Regions from separate parts of the Homo sapiens genome. Here region 2 is linked to region 1. Evidence: promoter capture Hi-C in 16 types of primary human blood cells and fetal thymus (Javierre and others, 2016). All regions are on one chromosome and are shown on one strand. The core of a region is centred on a gene start or on the middle of the fragment in contact, and the rest is flanking DNA. Distances in the headings are between cores, read along the strand shown. Region 1 holds the start of ANAPC4 (anaphase promoting complex subunit 4). Region 2 overlaps SEL1L3 (SEL1L family member 3).

Region 1 (2,636 bases), core at 71-2,570:
TCTGCCAGGCTGGCCTGTGAGCCTCTGGGCAGAGTTCCCGTCCCATGCATTGCTGTAGCCTCAGTTCCTCCACATAGTAAATGCCCAAGTACCTATAGAAGAAATCGTGTGTGAGCCCACACTCTTTTTTTATATTTTAGAGACGGAGTCTGGCTCTGTTGCCCAGGCTGGAGTGCAGTGGCACAATCTCGGCTCACTGCAAGCTCCGCCTCACTGCAAGCCCCGCCTCACTGCAAGCTCCGCCTCACTGCAAGCTCCGCCTCCCGGGTTCACGCCATTCTCCTGCCTCAGCCTCCCCAGTAGATGGGACTACAGGTGCCCGCCACCATGCCTGGCTACTTTTTTGTATTTTTTAGTAGAGACGGGGTTTCACCATGTTAGCCAGGATGGGCTCTATCTCCTGTCCTTGTGATCCGTCCGCCACGGCCTCCCAAAGTGCTGGGATTACAGGCGTGAGCCACCGCGCCCGGCCCTGAGCCCACACTCTTTATTCGTTATGACGGTGCTGCAACTACCAATAAGTTGTGAGGGTTAAATGGGATGAGATGTCACAGTATTATTTGCCTGTTAGGGAGGTTTTAGGGCACGCGCCTCTTCTCTCCAAATTGGAATCACCCAAAGAGTTTTAGTAAATACTGGGCCCATCCAGGGTTAATTTTCTTCTAATTGGTTTGGGGTGCTGCTTGGACAGGGGGACTTTTAAAATTCTATACTGACCCACCAGGACTGACATGAGAACTACTCGCTTAGTAACTGTTAGAGGAGGCGCCAGCTGATCAGGACCTAAAGTTCATATTCTTTTTCATCTCCCCGTTGTCGCTGAAGCCTACCCCATAAACCCCTACCGTCCCTTTGCCCACAGCAGAGAATTTCCGGGAAAACGGGAAAGGTATGCAAGCATGCCCACACACGTGCACACACGGGTTCCCAAAAGACCTGCGTGTGGCCGCAGGGGCCTGCCCCGCCCTTCTCGGGCCCTTTCAGGTCCCGGCGCCCAGCGATCCCACCAGCACCTGGGTCCGGCGCGCGGCTCCCTCCCTCTCCGCGCCCCTCGGGGCTCCCTGCCCCGCCCGCGTGCCCCACCCTTCCTAGCTCTGCCCCATCGCTGCTCCCTGCCCCGCCCACGGGCCCCATCCTACCCCCACCTCGATCCGCCCCTCGCTCCTCCCTGCCCCGCCCACCGCGCCCCGTCCCTGTCCGCCCCTTCTGGCTCTCAGCACCCCCAAGACCGGTGCGCGCCCCGCCCCTCCTCCTCCTCTCGCGAGGCAGTCCCGACGCCGGAAGTGCCTGGAGCGCGCGACAGCGGCGGGGCGGGGCGGCCTGGAGGCTGTGGCGCGCGGCCGGCAGAGGGAGGGGAGAGGCCACTGGGGCCGTGTTAGTCTGCCGGTGGGGACTCTTGCAGGTACAGGCGCGGTCGGGGCTCCTCGTGGAGAGCCGGGGGCTCCTGCCGGCCTCTGACTGGGGTGTCGTTGCAGGGCCGTCCCCATGTTGCGTTTTCCGACCTGTTTCCCATCCTTCCGGGTGGTGGGAGAGAAGCAGCTCCCGCAGGAGATTATTTTCCTGGTCTGGTCGCCCAAGCGGGATCTCATTGCTTTGGCCAACACAGCTGGCGAGGTGAGTGAGCCGGCGGGAGCCCGCCTGTGCTGGGTCTGCTCCCGGGGGGCCCAAGAACACCGAGCCCGAGCCTGTTCATTCGGGCCACAGGCGGCCGGAGCCTCAGTTTCCCCTTCTGCAGACATGGCTGGCCACCTGCTACCCCTTCCCTGCCTCCCAGGACGGCAGTAAACTTTAAGTATATATGCGAAAGGTGATGTCTGTGCTATTTTCGGTACTTTTATGGCTAAAGTAACAGTTTTCACACAGCTTAACACCGTCACGCAATCCTGCTTCCCCAAGTCTTCTTCACTCATTGGTTTATTAGTTAAATGAACTTTTTAAAAAAGCCCACTATGTGCTGCTCATGAGCTAGACATAATGGTAGATGCAGGGACCCTGCCCTAAGTTTGCTTACAGTTTTAATAGCAGTAGGAAGAGTTATTGTCAAACTTCAGCTGCAAATGTGCCTGCATGTAGCTGCCACACAGGATATATTTAAGAACCTGGCTTCTCTTGTCCACGTTTTATAGTACGGGTTGGATAACCACCCTCCACTAAAAATACCTCTAAATTGGACAAGGAAGGCATGCATTGGATTCCAGACAGAACGTGCATGGGTGTTATCAGCATTTCTTGTTCACATAAAACTTCATCGAGTATAAACCAGTTGTACCCAACTTTCTGCTGAGAGTTATTACCTGCCAGCCATTTTGTAAGGAAACCTTCACCTGTGCATCTTTCCGCCTCTGGCTTGAGAGTTATCTGGCCATGTGAGAGTTGTATAGAGCCAAATTTGGAAACTAGGTGATAAGGAAATCTTAGCACCCTGCAGACTGTAGTCTGCACCATGTTATCTACCATGATCCAGTCGCCAGGGTATTGATGTCTAATTTTTCAGGGCCCTCCATGAAATCTAGCTAGTCTCCCTCCGCTGCCGGGATGCTTTGAAACTCTGTTGTGGCTCTAGAGAGCAGCAGGTGGTACCGTCACAGAAGTAGGAGGGAAGGTAGACGGGAGGCACATCCGTGCAATCAGATGGG
Region 2 (2,636 bases), core at 37-2,536, 400 kb after region 1:
ATGGAAGAACAAAAGGAAATAAGGAGTTAGGTAGGATTCCGGGGCAGAGGAAAAAGCCAGCGCAAGGGCTCAGAGATCAGATAGAATATGGGCCACATGAGAACCTGCCTGCAGAAGAGATGAGGCAGCAAATTTCCCTAAGCCCTATTTGAGGCATCTCTCGAAACCTGTGGCCAGGCAACCTGCATTTAAATGTACTCAGTAAAATCTGCGGAACTGAATCCAAACTCACAAAGGGTACAGGACACACTTCAGGTCTCCTTTCTCCTTCCCCCAACCAACCAACCAACCAATCAACCAACCAACCACCCAAACAGAAAACCATGATGAGGCTGAGTATTAAGAAAGAGAACAAGCCACAGAAATCTTAATTCATCTAGGCCTTCGCAGCAGCTTTTACAATATGCTAAAGTGCTTTGTGATATTAAATTCAAAAGCAGGGCCCAGGTGAGGTGGCTCATGCCTGTAATCCCAACACTTTGGGAGGCCAAGGTGGTGAATCACCTGAGGTCAGGAGTTCAAGACCAGCCTGGCCAACATGAAGAAACCCTCTCTACTAAAAATACAAAAATTATCTGGGCGTGGTGGTGGGCACCTGTAATCCCAGCTACTCAGGAGAATTGCTTGAACCCGGCAGGCGGAGGCTGCAGTGAGCCAAGATCGTGCCACTGCACCCTAGCCTGGGTGACAGAGTGAGACTTCATCTCAAAAAAGCTTCAAAACAACAAAAGTAGGCAAGAAAGCTAAGGAACTAACAAAGACTCTATGAGAAAAACAGTGTCAGACATCATGGGGGCAGGGGTGGGTTGGGGAGGAGTGTTTACAGGAGTGCTCTTCCTTTGGGAAAACCCCAAAAATAAACACTCCGATATCTGAATGTTTAGTTCATCCTAAGAAGTTTGTAGGGAGCAGAGGGTGGGAGGTTGGGAAAGCGAGAAGCAGAGAATGAGTTAAAGTCAAATTTGGGAGTTTTATGAACTGAAGTTCACTTGAGAAACAAGATAAAGCATCACAAAAATTGTAAGGTACATTTACGATGGGGAAACAGTAACTTTCTGAAAAAAATCTCTTTTTGATTGTGCAAAGTGAGGCCACAGGTAATAAACTTTCACAGGATGATGATAATAAAAATTTGCATTTGGTGCTTTCTTCATTGGCCTCATTTCTCCTACACTTTCTAATTTAAGATTCTTACTCATTGAGATGCTATCTGTTGGTTGCGTGTGCAGCCATGGACTAAAAGGGAAAATGTCATTCTTTTGAACTTACACTTTAATTTTTAATTAAGGTTCAAATCAGAGTATGATCAATGCTGAGTCTCAGCTAATGTCTTTGAGGCAGTGGACTGAGGACTTTTTTTAGTTATTACTGAAATATCCACATCATTTAAGCAATAAAGCAGCCAAGAAAATGTGACCCAAGTTAAAACAACAATGGAATGCTAGAACTGATAGAAAAAAATAAAAGAAAGAAGACTGGTCAAGTTAGGAGAGGGGTCCCTTATTTGTAAAATCTATGAGTAACAGCAAACAGGGAACATTTGTGGGTCCTCATACACCATGTTTCATCCCATAAAGAACAAGATGAGATTTGCTAACTCCACCAGAAGGTTAGGAAGGAGGGCATCTGTTTGTTTGTGCCATTGGATACTGGACTTCCAACAATCCCAGGCTCCTAGTCATGGCAGATGCAGTAAAACATCTATGGAAGAGGTGGCCTGAACCTTAAACACTGATCTCTCTTCTTGCTAGGAACAAGGTAGAAATTCTGGACTTTCTGTGGCCTGGAAATAAAAAGCAGAGAGTCTCACCTAAGATCCCCTATGCTGTCTCCAGACCAGACTCTAAAACCAAGAGGGGCAAGCTTAAAGGAAAGAGAAATCAATGTATTTGTATATCTTTCTCAACTTGATGAGTGTGAACAATTCCCCTAGAGAACAAATTTTTGTGTATAATTAAACATGGAAATGCTATGTTTTCCAATCAACAGCCAATCAGTCCATGATACTCTGAATATCATTACTGGGAGCTGTGATTTCCCTGCAAATTGCTTTCTCAGTTGCATTTTAAGACTCCATTTCATAAGACTATACTGACAGACAGGGAAAAAAGTTTGCTCTAACGTGGATCCCAAGCTTACCATGAACCTTCCAGGTAGGCATTGAGGCCTTTGCGGATGACATGGCCCAAGTAGCCATTTTTCTCAGCTACATGTTTTGCCCATCTGAAAAAAAAAAGGGAAGAGAAAATACGCAAACCATGGCAAATTTAATAAAATGTTTTTCTTCATATGCTCTCAATAAATCCCACTTGGGGAATATTTTGCTAGTTAGAATTTTTATAGAGCAACAAACCAGAACTGAATGTTAAGGTAAAGAAAATGCATTCTGAGAGCTTTTCATTTAGTGCCCTTTCTTATGAATGATTAGGAGTTGTCTTTTATGGAAACAAAGACATGTAAGATACATAATGAAATATATCCACCAATATGAAAAAATATAATCTCTACCAAGAGTTCTAGTACTCTATTAAGTCATGTTTACTGACTTATTATTAGCTTTCCCTATTTTGCTTTGTTCTCTAATTTATTAGGGGTTTATTAGTAATGAGCTAGTCTGTTATAATCTTTAGATTTAT

The links. Contacts are between HindIII fragments. The CHiCAGO score rates a contact against its expected background, and 5 or more counts as called.
Region 2: a contact is called between a fragment that was not itself captured here and the fragment with the promoter of ANAPC4 in region 1, in 1 of 17 cell types (endothelial precursors). The highest score is 5.9, in endothelial precursors.

The regions. Positions count from the first base shown.
Region 1 is chr4:25,375,943-25,378,578 of GRCh38, forward strand. It overlaps ANAPC4 (anaphase promoting complex subunit 4), which reads left to right and starts at 1,321. Exons shown (of 29, transcript NM_013367.3): 1 at 1,321-1,402; 2 at 1,476-1,614. The coding sequence starts at 1,486. RefSeq lists a silencer at 1,024-1,443 and enhancers at 1,564-1,623, 1,654-1,723. The HindIII fragment of the contact is 5,076 bases long and covers 1-2,636 here.
Region 2 is chr4:25,774,138-25,776,773 of GRCh38, forward strand. SEL1L3 (SEL1L family member 3) reads right to left here. Exons shown (of 24, transcript NM_015187.5): 17 at 2,140-2,223. Among named protein-coding and RNA genes, the nearest start is that of SEL1L3, 88 kb to the right of the region's middle. The HindIII fragment of the contact is 1,149 bases long and covers 713-1,861 here.